Linked DNA regions of Homo sapiens: regions 1 and 3 are each linked to region 2. The links are contacts of gene promoters, found by promoter capture Hi-C in blood cells and fetal thymus (Javierre and others, 2016). All regions are on one chromosome and are shown on one strand. Each heading gives the region's core, a stretch centred on a gene start or on the middle of the fragment in contact. The rest is flanking DNA. Distances are from core to core; before and after follow the strand shown. Region 1 overlaps CLDN10-AS1 (CLDN10 antisense RNA 1). Region 2 holds the start of ABCC4 (ATP binding cassette subfamily C member 4 (PEL blood group)). Region 3 overlaps ABCC4 (ATP binding cassette subfamily C member 4 (PEL blood group)).

Evidence for each region. The method cuts DNA at HindIII sites, captures the fragments that hold promoters and counts their contacts. A CHiCAGO score of 5 or more calls a contact.
Region 1: a fragment that was not itself captured here is called in contact with the fragment with the promoter of ABCC4 in region 2 in 1 of 17 cell types (megakaryocytes); the score reaches 10.3 in megakaryocytes.
Region 3: a contact is called between a fragment that was not itself captured here and the fragment with the promoter of ABCC4 in region 2, in 1 of 17 cell types (megakaryocytes). The highest score is 5.5, in megakaryocytes.

The regions. Positions count from the first base shown.
Region 1 is chr13:95,483,963-95,488,178 of GRCh38, reverse strand. All of the region lies in intron 3 of CLDN10-AS1 (CLDN10 antisense RNA 1), which reads left to right. It also overlaps a transcript of CLDN10 not described here. Among named protein-coding and RNA genes, the nearest start is that of CLDN10-AS1, 48 kb to the left of the region's middle. The HindIII fragment of the contact is 4,082 bases long and covers 787-4,216 here.
Region 2 is chr13:95,298,975-95,303,296 of GRCh38, reverse strand. It overlaps ABCC4 (ATP binding cassette subfamily C member 4 (PEL blood group)), which reads left to right and starts at 1,846. Exons shown (of 31, transcript NM_005845.5): 1 at 1,846-2,056. The coding sequence starts at 1,983. It overlaps LOC102724149 (a long non-coding RNA gene), which reads right to left and starts at 2,346. Exons shown (of 3, transcript XR_429273.4): 1 at 2,034-2,346; 2 at 971-1,351. RefSeq lists silencers at 1,341-1,400, 1,581-1,640, 1,671-2,310 and enhancers at 1,127-1,901, 3,504-3,563. The HindIII fragment of the contact is 3,485 bases long and covers 280-3,764 here.
Region 3 is chr13:95,154,196-95,158,769 of GRCh38, reverse strand. The region is part of intron 19 of ABCC4 (ATP binding cassette subfamily C member 4 (PEL blood group)); the gene reads left to right. Among named protein-coding and RNA genes, the nearest start is that of SNORD13G, 54 kb to the left of the region's middle. The HindIII fragment of the contact is 1,718 bases long and covers 2,446-4,163 here.

The sequences.
Region 1 (4,216 bases), core at 1,578-4,077, 180 kb before region 2:
ACCCTGTCTCTACTAAAAATACAAAAATTAGCCGGACATGGTGGCAGGCGCTGGTAATCCCAGCTCCTTGGGAGGCTGAGGTAGAGAATTGCTTGAACCCGGGAGGTGGAGGTTGTGGTGAGTCGAGATCACGCCACTGCACTCCAGCCTGGGTGACAGAGCGAGACTCCATCTCAAAAAAAGAGAAAAGAAAAAAAATTAGGCCAGGCTCAGTGGCTCATGCCTGTAATCCTAGCACTTTGGGAGGCTGAGACAGGAGGATCACTTGAGCCCAGGGGTTCGAGACCAGCTTGAGCAACACTGTGAGACCCTGTCTCTACAAAAAAATTTTTTAAAATTAGCCAGGCATGGTGGTGTGCACCTGTAGTCCTAGATACTCGGGAAGCTGAGGTGGGAGGGTCATTTGAATCTGGGAGGTCAAGGCTGCAGTGAACCATGATCACGCCACTGCACTCCACCCTGGGCAACAGAGTGAGATCTCATCTCAAAAATTAAAAAATTAGAAAAACTTAGAACCATAGGGAATGGGAGTACAGATGTGACAACATTGTCCATGAGTTCATGAAGTATGTGAGAGTTTATACTCTTCTCTGTTATTTTTGTATATGTTTCAAATTCTCTATAATGAAAAATTTCTTTTTTTCCTAATGAAACTCCTGGTCTAGGAGGGAAGATAAAATGTGAACATGAATAACTTCTACATGACAGAAAGAGATAAACTAAGAGAAGTGCAGAGGAAATTTCAAGAATTACTATGCTTCCACAGATGAACCCAAATGCAAAGCTTAGAGCAGTGATAACATACTCTTTAGCCAGTCTTCAGCATTATTTGTACTGAATATTCAAAAATGATTTTGTGATGACTTTATATCAGTGTAAAGTTCTCTTCATAGGTAACCCTCTAAGGGAAAAATAGAAAAGTAAGTCCTGCAAACAGGAGATAGTCTTCTTGGGAAACTTCAGTTCTGAGCAAGAGGATGCTAGGATAGCAGAGACTGGACAAGAGTGTTCTCCTAGAAATGACATCATAGGCTGCCAGAACAAATTGCCTGTGAGAATAGCATGTGCTTAATCAGGAGATAGATGCAGAGAACACCCATAGGTGTAGGTTAGAATCATGCTAAAGAGCAACAGGCTGGACACGGACAGTTCAAATCCGTGCGAAACACAACACAAAGACGATAGCACAGCGACAACAGCAAAATCTCCACTTCATTTTGGCCATGACTTTTCACCTCTTTTCTCCACCAAAAACCTTATTTCTTTAAATTTTCCATGTGCAACTCATTGATTGAGCACCCAAGTATCAGGCACCATGTTGAACACTGAGGCGGTAAAGGGAGAGTGTAGTTCTGCCTCCCCAAAGAGCTCACAACGTGGCCAGGTGGAGGCACATGCACAACTGAGAGGCTAAAATGTGGCTACTGAATCATATGGCCAGGATGGAAAAAGAAAAATCTTTAGGAATAAAAAGCAAGGCACCTTTCATTCTGTTTGAGATGCCTGTGAGGCAGGTTCACTGTACTCTGGTTACCAATTCCAGGGGAGATCCTACTACATGGAGGATAGCAAAGATCATCACTATGCCAACCAACCACCAGGAAGAGGAGTCCAGATACTTCTGCCAATTGCATCTTTTTTTTTTTTTTTTTTTTTGAGATGGGGTCTCACTGTGTTGCCCAGGCTGGAGTGCAGTGGTGCGATCTTGGCTCACTGTAACCTCCACCTCCCAGGTTCAAGTGATTATCCTGCCTCAGCCTCCAGAGTAGCTGGGACTACAGGCGCACGCCACCATGCCTGGCTAATTTTTGTATTTTTAGTAGAGACGGAGTTTTGCCATGTTGGCCAGGCTGGTCTCAAACTCCTGACCTCAAGTGATCCACCCACATCGGCCTCCCAAAATGCGCCTATTGCATCTTGGGCTGCAATTTCTACCACTTGCAGGAGTTGAGGGAGACAGAACACTCACAGAACAAGTTAGGCAAAGCAACTTTATTCATCACAGATAGGCAGCAAGGCACAACAGAAGCCTAGCATCCATTGCGAGCTGATTCTGCAAGGCTCAGGAAGCTACTCAGAATGGATGGAGTCTTGTCTGCACATGCCCCACAATGCACTGTAGCTGAGGCACTCTGAAAGCACTCCACTCTGGGTTTTATACCCTGGGGGGAAACTGGGATCACTGGACCACAGCATTGGAGGACATCTTGTCCTAAGAGGAACAGAAACAGAATCTGGCATATTCTGGACAGCTTTTCCTTATCTCAGAATGTTGTTTCCAGCACATTCTAGCATTATTCTGAGAACTACAAGTGAAAAATGGGGGAAGAGCTGGGTTATCAAGGCCATCCAGGCACTTATCCTGCAATGCCCAGGAAAGTCACCCCAGAGGAGGTTACATTTGAGTTGGCCTCAAAGCACGGCTAGAATTTCTAGTCCTTATCTGGAGGAAATAGAGTGAGGAAAAACATACAGCTGAGTATGCCAAAAACACAAGTTGTCCAGTGAATGTGTGTAAACTCAGGCTGAAATTTAGCAGGGATGATGAGAAAGGAGATATGGATTAGGCCTGATTAGGAATGCCCTGATGTGCCATTCTAGGGAATCTGGAGTGGGCCCGGGCTTGAAAACCAGCAGTGATGAATGGTAGAATTCTGTTTGGCCAGATCAGATTTGAAAATAATTTTGAATACCTTTGGATAGGAAATTCAGCTCCAATGACTCATAGACCTGTGGTGTAAGGCCTGAAATTAAGATTCAAAACTAAGTGCTGCCTTGACCATGGAGGCTGGTAAAATCAGGGTACAGAGGCTCAAATGGATTAACTGCAAGTTCTCCTCCCACTCTGCTCCTGGTGGATAAAGTCCTCTAGCCAAGCAACCCTCCTTATCAAAGGGACCAGGCGCAGTGCTAGGCTTCAGGTCCCCGTCAGCCTGTAGAATTATCCAAGCAAACCAAACACATCCTCTTACAGGAACCAGGGGCACCTCGCCCTCTTGTTACTACAAAGCCTGCCTCCCACAGCTTCCTGGTGGTTCACTCTGTTCCCAGCTGCAACCCCCACGTGGCTCTCTGTGGGGCAGTGTCGTCCTTCCCTGGGCCATGAGCATATGTGACTAATTACCTGCTGCCCATCTCATCTGTCTAGGCTTGGATGTTGTACATTCAACCATCCTCTCAACTCTAGGGCGGAATCCCTCCCTCACCAGTGGGGTGAAGTGGAGGCAAACTAAATCAAACTAAATAAGACCCCATCATACCATGTTGTATTGCACTCTGCTTCTTTTTTTTTTTTTTTTTTTTTTTTTTTTTTGAGACAGGGTCTCACTTTGTTACCCAGGCTGGAGTGCAGTGGCACAATCTTGGCTCATTCCAACCTCCACCTCCTGGGTCCAAGCGATTCTTGTGCCTCAGCCTCCCGAGTAGCTGGAACTACAGGTGCTTGCCACCACACCTGGCTAATTTTTGTGGGTTTTTTTTTTTTTTTTTTGTATTTTTAGTAGAGACGGGGTTTCGCCATGTTGGCCAGGCTGGTCTTGAACTCCTGACCTCAAGTGATCTGCCCACCTTGGCCTCCCAATGTGCTGGGATTACAGGCGTGAGCCACCACACCTGGCCTCATCCTGCTTCTTTACACACTTACATTTCCTGCATAACTGAAAAAACTTGACCTTGTAACACCTCTTTTCAGGGGAATGACATATAAAATTATTCATAATGACAGACTATGAAATATTTTACCAATATTTTCCTTTAAGAAAGATTAGGGAAGTAGTGTTTAGGATAGATTCTACATGGAACAAATTAGAAGTAGAAAGACCAGTCAAGAAGTATCTGAACAGAATGATAGCCGAGTGGTGTGCAGTGGATACTGTGATATGCTGCCCAGAAAGGACAGTGAAGGACATCAGGCCCCAGCTGCTAGAAGTGCTGCTGCAGTCAGCCTGTAGCTCTTAGCCCTCTCAGAAAGTGACTGAGCTGCAGAGAGCTGCCTCACCCAAGGACATGCCCTATCTTTGTCCTTTTGGGCTGCTATCCTACCAGAGACTAAGTAGTTCAAAAACAACAGAAATGTATTTCTCACAATTCTAGAGGCTGGGAAGGCCAAAGTCAAGGCACCAGCAAATTTGATGCCTGGTGAGGGTTGGCTTCCTAACTGATAGAGAATGTCTTCTTACTGTATCCTCATGTGGTGGAAGGGATAAGGGAGGGACCT
Region 2 (4,322 bases), core at 597-3,096:
AACTTTTGGTAGAGACAGAGCCTCACTATGCTGGCTAGCCTGTGCTTGACTTTTAAATATGTGTTTGTGTAAGGCTTTCTTTAAAAGCTATTAACTATACTATTTTAGCAAATATACATGGGAAATTATCAAGGAACAATAAAATGATCTTGTTCCAAGCACCATGAACTTGGAGCCTTTCATTTTTTTTCATTCAGGGTGGATATGAAGAGCAGCTGCTGACCTTGTTAAGGTAGCCACAGAAATGACTGAAGACTTAGAGGTGGGAGTACACAAGCTTGGAACAAGATTTTGTTCATTCATTCCTACAGCCATTCAACCAGCATATTCTGGGCACTTCTCATGCACACTGGCCATCCACCAGGGAGACAGGCCATGCTTAGACATAGGCTTATTGCAAATCATGTTTTATCCTTTCTTGGCTCTAAGACTGGACAAGTTCTGCCTTTCAGCTTCACCTTCCTCATCTATAAAGTAAGGATAACCTTGAATGGGGCACTGATAGAATTAAAAGTGAGATAATTGGTCGGGCGTGGTGGTACATGCCTGTAATCCTAGCACTTTGGGAGGCCACGGTGGGAGGATCACTTGAGCCTAGGAGTTTGAGACCAGCCTGGGCAACAAAGTGAGAAATTATCAAGGAACAATAAAATGATCTTATTACAAAGAAAACCAAATTCTCAAACATGCATGAAATATGAAGAAAATAAACCTCCATGACAATCATTTGGCTTCAAAAATTATCAGTATTTGAACTTGGAGCCTTTGATTTTGATTTTTGCATCTCTACAAAAATTACAAAATATGAGCCGGGTGTGGTGGCGGGTGCCTGTAGTCCTAGCTACTTAAACTGAGTTGGGAGGATTGCTTGAGCCCTGGGAGGTCGAGGGTGCAATGAGCCATAATCGTGACACTGTGTGTGAGACTGCCACACACACACACACACACACACACTAGTGAGGCTACGCACTCAGAAATGCACATGAACATCACTGGTATTCTGGAACCCACGTGTCGTTTGCCACTGTTATCTGTTAGGCTTTAGGGCTTGACGACAGAAATCATCAGGCAGTCTCTCTTTCCTCTTATATTCCTTTCCCAATCTAAGGGGGCAGCAAAAAGCTCAGAGGTCCACCGTAGCATGCAACATGTGAGATGCCTAAAGCCCGCCCCCATCGACGACAGCATTCATCCATCTCCCGAATTCATCTGGGTCATACTCTCGAGTTACCCGGCTTTCTTGAGGTCTTGCAGCTCTACAAGGATAATCTGTGGCTAAACTTTGCTGTCGTCCAAGGTCAAATGTTTGGCTCACAGGTTGAAGAGCCTCCCATGGCACCGTCGTTTGGTCCTGAGAAGGGAAAGGCGCCCAGGGGGCGGGCTGCTAGAGCACGAGGCAGCTGTCTCCCAGTCTTCCCAAACCCGTAGCCGAGGGGGCGTTTCTGCGGCGCAGGGGCGGGCACAGCCGACGCCTCCCTGCTCCACCTTCTGTGTCGGCGCCTAGACTCGGATAGTGAATTTCGGAAAGTTTCACTCGGGTTCGTGCACGTGGGCACCTCCGGACCCGGCCTCCTTGCCGCGCGCTCTGCTACCCTCTCCATCCAGCGGCGCAGGCGGCCCTCGCCTCACCCCTGGGCGTAGCTCTGGGCTCCCTTTGGCGTCGCCAGCTTCGCCTCCTCCCGCCGCGTCTCCTCCCGCCGCGTCACCCGTCGGTCCCGGCCGCGCTCGCACGCGGTGCGCAGCTCCCGGGCTCCAGGCGGCGGCGCGTAGCGGGCGCCCCCGAGGCGGCGGGCCTGAGAGGCGGGGACGGGGCGTGCCGCCGGCGCCCGGCTCCCGGAAGCGGCTGCTTCACAGGCTCCAGCCGAGCGGACAGGCGTGGCGGCCGGAGCCCCAGCATCCCTGCTTGAGGTCCAGGAGCGGAGCCCGCGGCCACCGCCGCCTGATCAGCGCGACCCCGGCCCGCGCCCGCCCCGCCCGGCAAGATGCTGCCCGTGTACCAGGAGGTGAAGCCCAACCCGCTGCAGGACGCGAACCTCTGCTCACGCGTGTTCTTCTGGTGAGTGTCCCCGCCCGAAACAGGTCACCCTGCAGCCGCTGGCGCCGCGGACGCACTCTCCCGGGGCCGCGCCCGATGCTGCCCAAGCCCTCTGCGGCTGGGGGCGAGGGGAGCGCTTTCCTACGCCACGCGGTCCACGCCGGGGCTTTCTGCTGCGGGTGGCGCCGCCCCCACGCCGGCCGCGTGGTCCCTGCCTGCGCCCCGGGGCGCGGCGCAGGGGGACGCGGGGACGCGGGGCCAGTGGCTTTGCTACTGGAGGCCCTGCGGGCCCTTAGGGCTCGGGGGAGGAGGAGCAGGAGGTGGGGAGGCGGGGAACCCAGGCTGCCGAAAGGGGGAGTCTCTTGCCCAGCGGGAGAAGCGACTGCACCCCTTACACGCCCACCCTTCGCTGGCTCCCGCCTCCTGCTCTGGGACTCGCAGTCTCCTGAACTCAAACGCACCTTTTCCTTTCTTTTTAAGTAAGCAGCTTACGAACAGTTTCCTTTATCTGATCTCAGCCAAAGCCTAATTAGTGTCCTGGACCTATGCCATCTCCCAGTAGTGTCCCCACCCCTTCCGATATTCCTTACGAGACAGCTCGATCCAACTCCACGTCCCGTTGTACCTCTCTGTGTCCCGGTGTCTCTGTATCTTTTGTCTCAGTGACCAGGGCTCTCCTTTTGCCTCTTTGTGGGAATCTCACTGTGTGTCCATGTGGGTCGTGGTACCTAGTTATGGCAAGTTTCATGTGGGTAAAATAACACTATTATTATTTTTCATTTATGAATGGGGACCCTGTTCTTGAACAAGATTTTCCAGGATTTGCTTTTAACTGGGACATGCACCGCCACGACTGGAGTCTGTCTTTGACCAGCTTCTTTCCCCTGTTTCCAATACTTTCACTTCCACGTAGGAGGACAGCTCGGAGGTGGGGTCCCTGGAATCGCTAACCTTCAGAGAGGTGATCCATGGTCTTGATGCAGGTGGTTCCTACCAGGAGTTCTACCTTCTTAAAACCACCCCAGGGCTCCTGAGCTGGGAGGGCCCACAGCCCTACCCATTTTGTGCAAGGAAACAAACGGAGAAAGACTCGGGTGACAGTAGTAACTAAAATTTCCATCTTGGCCTGGCGCGGTGGCTCACGCCTGTATCCCTGCACTTTGGGAGGCAGAGGTGGGTGGATCACGAGGTCAGGAGTTCGAGACCAGCCTGGCTGACATGGTGAAACCCCGTCTCTACTAAAAATACAAAAATTAGCCGGGTGTGGTGGAGCACGCCTGTAATCCCAGCTACTCAGGAGGCTGAGGCAGGGGAATTGCTTGAACCCAGTAGGCGGAGGTTGCAGTGAGCTGAGATCGCCCCACTGTACTCCAGCCTGGGTGACAGAGTGAGACTCCGTCTTGGGGGAGTGGCGGGTGTGTGTGGGGGAATTCCGTCTGCTAACTACATAAGCCTGAACCTTTGAAGGGCTTCAATCTCACTTGGATGATTATTAGATCTTCTGTTTCTTGACCTCTGCCGCCTCATCTTTCCCACATGTTGATATTGCCTTTTATTATGGGACAACCTAGGGTGGGGGTCTCCAATTTTTTGGGTTCCCTGGGCCACACTGGAAGAATTGTCTTGGGCCATACATAAAATACACTAACACTAATCATACACTAACACTAATGATAGCTGATGAGCTAAAAAAAAATCGCAAAAAAAAATCTGATGTTTTAAGAAAGCTTACGAATTTGGCAGCCCATGGGCCTCAGGTTGGACAAGCTTGACCTAGGGGATTCCAAGAGGATGAGTCGCTTACTCTTGTTTCGATTGTGGTACACTCAGTGGGTGTAGGAACTTCTCTTGGTTGTTTGGCGGCCTTTCTCTTAAGGAGAGGGGCACGTGGAGGAGGAAGGAATATGGGTGTGGTTTCTGCAAATAATAACTTGAGGTAGACAAATGGTCTCCTCAACTTCAGGCAGGGCAAGGAACTTTTTTTTTTTTTTTTTGAGACAGGATCTTGCTTTGTGCAAGCTGTGACCCAGGCTGGAGGGCAGTGACACATTCATAGCTTGCTGCAGCCTCCAACTCCTGGGCCGAAGCAATCCTCCTGCCTCAGCCTCCCGAGTAGCTGGGGCTCCAGGTGTGTGTCACCATGCCCGGATAATAAAAAAAAATTTTTTTTGTAGAGATAGGGCTCTCTATGTTGTTGCTCAGGCTGGTCTTGAACTCCTGGGCTCAAGTGTTCCTCCCGCTTCGGCCACCCAAAGTCTGGGATTACAGATGTGACTCCTGCCTCCTT
Region 3 (4,574 bases), core at 2,055-4,554, 150 kb after region 2:
AAAATTCCCCTCTATGATAGTGAGGCAGGCATGCTCGATTTTTCAGTACTCTTAAACATACATGTTAAATATGTATAAGTATCTGGCATGATGTTGTGCCCCCTGAATTGCAGAGTGTTCTTTGAGTGGGGTAGAAAGACTGGGAAGCATGTCTGAATACTTAGTTATTAAAAGCAAGCTCTTAGAAGAGCCCCGGGGGAGTTTCCTATGAGCTCAGCATCCTGATATTCTCCCAGGTTTTAGAAAACTTAGGAAACGGGGAGGACCTCTGCTGGCATGTAGTTTCCAGTAAGCTCACCTTGGGATGGTGACTGGCACAGAAACTCCAGGTGATTCACACCGGGGGTCTGGCTAGACGTCCCTCATATCCCCATCTCCAGTGCCCTTGTGCTGGAATATTCTCAGTGACTCTGGTCTGCAGCATAGAAATGTCTTCTCCATTATTTTATGTCCACTCCCACCCCAGTGTGCCATCCCCCTCATCATGCTTCTGCCCAGATCCTCATCTGTGTGGTTAATGAATGGGCGACCCTTGCTGGTGACTCAGAGAACCAGACCTTCTGGAAGGGTCCCCCTGACTGCCCCACTGTGGTCCCAAGTTCACTTATTTGGATTTAGGGAGAAGGGGAAGGTAAACCTGGAAGGTCTGTGTTTCTTCTCAGCAGCGAAGTTTCTGTTTCTTTTTTTTTTTTTTTTTTGAGACGGAGTCTTGCTCTGTCACCCAGGCTGGAGTGCAGTGGCGTGATCTTGGCTCACTGCAAGCTCTGCCTCCTGGGTTCATGCCATTCTCTTGCCTCAGCCTCCAGAGTAGCTGGGACCACAGGCACCCACCACCACGCCCGGCTAATTTTTTGTACTTTTTTAGTAGAGACGGGTTTCACCGTGTTGGCCAGGATGGTCTCGATCTCCTGACCTCGTGATCTGCCCGCTTCCACCTCCCAAAGTGGTGGGGATTACAGGCGTGAGCCACCGCGCCCGGCCTGAAGTTTCTGTTTCTAGGAAGGCCACGCTTCTCCAACATGCCAGATATTAAGTTCCTCTCCATTTCGAACCCACCTATGGTTGCATGAAATTCATCTTTGTTTATATAATACAATACCTTTTTATCTACTGGCCTTTCGTTAACCTGATAAATCTTAAGCTAGCAGGATAAAATGTGAGCCAAACCAGTGTGCTGCCTTAGAATGACAAGAGCCAGTTCTCTCTCTCTTTCTCTTTTCTTTCTTTTCTTCCTTCCTTTCTTTTCTCCTTCCTTCCTTCCTTCCTTCCTCTTTCTTCCTTTCTTCCTGCTCTGTTGCCCAGTCGAGTGCAGTGGCATGATCTCAGCTCACTGCAAATGTCCACCTCTTGGGTTCAAGCAATTCTCATGTGTCTATCTCCTGAGTAGTTGGTATTACAGGTGTCTGCCACCACATCCGGCTAATTTTTTTTTTTTTTGTATTTTTAGTAGAGACAGGGTTTTACCTCCTATTGGTACTGAGATAGCAGTTTTCCCAAGAAGCCAAGTACTGACGAGCAATGTGGAGCTGGGTCTGAGGGGCAACCATGCTCTGTCTGCTGTTGGGAGCGGGCTGGGCCCCCAGCAAGAATGGACACACATTCATCCAAGGTGACCACCAGTGGACAAATGGTGACTGTTTGTGTGTGTGTGTGTGTGTGTGTGTGTGTGTGTGTGTGTGTGGTAGAGTCTCACTCTGTCGCCCAGGCTGGAGTGCAGTGGCGTGATCTCAGCTCACAGCAACCTCCGGCTCCCAGGTTCAAGTGATTCTCCTGCCTCAGCCTCCCGAGTAGCTGGGATTACAGTGTCCACCATCACACCTGGCTAATTTTTGTATTTTTAGTAGAGATGGGGTTTCATGATGTTGGTCAAGCTGATCTCGAACTCTTGACCTCAGGTGATCCACCCATCTTGGCCTCCTAAAGTGCTGGGATTACAGGCGTGAGCTACCGCGCCCTGCCAAGAGCCGGTTTTCCTTTCTCGTCTTTTTATCCTCCTCTCACCCATTGCTAGTTTTTATTCTTTCCTCTTTTGATGTAGGTTGGTGATGGGATCACGTGTGTCTGTTAAGAAGCCTTACATTTTCAGCTGCCCTCGGACACCTCCTTCATATTTTGATTATGACCTGAGTTGAATAGGGCATTTGCAGATATTTTCTGGTACTGTTCGCTGCATCTACCTCTTCCTAGTCAGTTTTTGTGTGTGTCTTAGCCCTGTTTCCGTTCTGTTCCAATCATAATAAATGGGTAACACAAATCCTAGGTCAAGAGTAAGTCTTCAGAAATTAAGAGATGATTTTTATTTTAAATGTAAATCCTGTTTTCCTGGCATGGGCAGAATTAATTTTGCTTTTGATATCCAGCACAAGAGGGCAGCATGATCTGCAGTATTTCAGTGATATAATGTAAGAGCACCTCATTGCAAAACCTGGTTTTTAATTTAAAGCTTTCTTGGAAATTCTATTTTTATAGCTTGGGTCTTTGTATCTTGATATGTGTTAATATGAAATTTAAAAAGTAATATTGTGGCGTATTATGTTTGAAACATGAAAGTCTTTGTGGAAGATATTTTTCTGATGTTGTCCTGGAATACCTAGCATTTCAAACAGGGTTTTTTTGGATTTCCTAATTACACCTTCTTGACTAGTAACTGGAATAGGCAGACGCTGACATCTTGAGTGGTTGGATGCATTTTAATTCCTGAAGCATACATTATGATTTGCTTGTATGATGTTTCTGTTTTCTTTGTAAGCATGAGTTTGCAGAGAAAGATAGTTACACAGTTAGTTTCTTTAGTTTTCTTCCACGCCAACAGAGTTAGCAGAGACATTTTATTCTTATCAGGTCTCTACAATTTCACTCTTTGTTTTGGAGAAAAGATGAGCGGTTTGTTGTCCTGTTTTCTCATGCCTAATTATGGTGACATAACATTTAGCTAAGTACACTGACTCTAATGGGTGCCAGATAAATGTTTACTTGCTTTCAATTTGTTAATTTGGCTTTAAGAACCCAAGAGCTGGTGTTGGTAGAAGTGTTTGTTTACTCTCTCAGGGAAGTAAAAGTTAATATTGGGTTACAGCCAGTGTGTTTTACACAACTGGTTTTTCTCCAGTGTGTGCGTGGGGAGTATGTGTGTGTATGTATATTTATGTTCATCGATGCCTTCAACAGTGTAACAAAAAAACCAGATTCATATCATTCTTTTTTCTTTATAGATTAAGGTAAATGAGAGCTAAAACACTAGATAAAAGAAAAAAGAAACATATTGACTTCTTCCCATGTTTCTTTTTTTTAATCCAGTGGAAGATGCTTGTGGTCACTGAGGTATGGAATGCGAATGCTAGTACTAGATTTTAAGATAGACATATTCTCCTATGTTCCCTAATCAAAAATCGAGGGTTGCCCCAGTGATTAAGATTCTCAGCTTTTAGCCAGGCGTGGTTGTAGTCCCAGCAGCTCGGGAGGCTGAGTCAGGAGGATTACTTGAGTCTGGGAGGTCAAGACTGCAGTGAGCTGTGATTGCATCACTGCACTCCAACCTGTCTCCAAAAAAAAAAAAAGAATGATTCCTTCCCAGCTTGACTGAATGGGAAGTTAGGATGTGCATCCTACAGGAATTGAGGGGAGGAGGGTGGTAGTGGTTTGAACTATTGTTCTGTTTCTGAAACCTGGAAAGGGACTCTGGAATCCACTACAAGTTGCTAAATAATTTGTGGAGAACTGAAAGCAACCTCCATGATGAGCTTTTTATATGATCAGAAAGACTGTCTTGCGATACTCTATAAAATCTGATGTCCATATCCCACTTCCTTGCCAGAAAAAAAGAGTCATCAATAAAGAAGAAACATAATTGTAGGGATACCTATTTATCTGTTTATTCAGTTCAAATGACCACTGGAGTTGGTGCTAAATGTGCATTTTTAACAAGTATAATATTTCAGCACTGTCAAAATTACCTCTACAATAATAGGCTTGTTAAATTATAGCTCTATAAGCTAGGGGGTAAGATGGCTCTGCCCAGCACACATTAATCTATGCCTGTTCACACAAGTGATTCTGCTGAGCAGGTAGCATGTTTAAACAAGAAATACTGGTCCTAAAACCTCTGATTTATGGTAGGTGTTGTTTTGACACAGCACCATTCAGACAATTTACAAGGCAAAGCTTCGTGCTAAAATATTTCCTCAGTGTCATCATTCGTCACCAGTATAAATATTCAGTAGTGATGCTGGAAAATTGGTAATATGCCCATTGATGCCAAATCACTCGCTATGTTTCCTTTCAAGTGAGATCTGTTGTGGATATGGTTAAAAGAAACTATGATTTTTCTTCCTTGAGAGCAGATGAGCTGTAAGAAATTGAGAATAACAACCGTCCTGACAGCTTTCATGTACTCAATCTTGCCTATATTGCTTTTAATTCTGGCTTAAGTCCTGCGGGCTTTCCCTCCCACCCCCTTGCCTGATGCGTATTGTAAAGAACACATTTATATGTACATTAGTTAGTTTAAGAGGCTTTTTGTGTTCAAAGGAAGAAGTTAGTCATCACCAGAAAAGCTTTGTTGCAAAACAAAAACA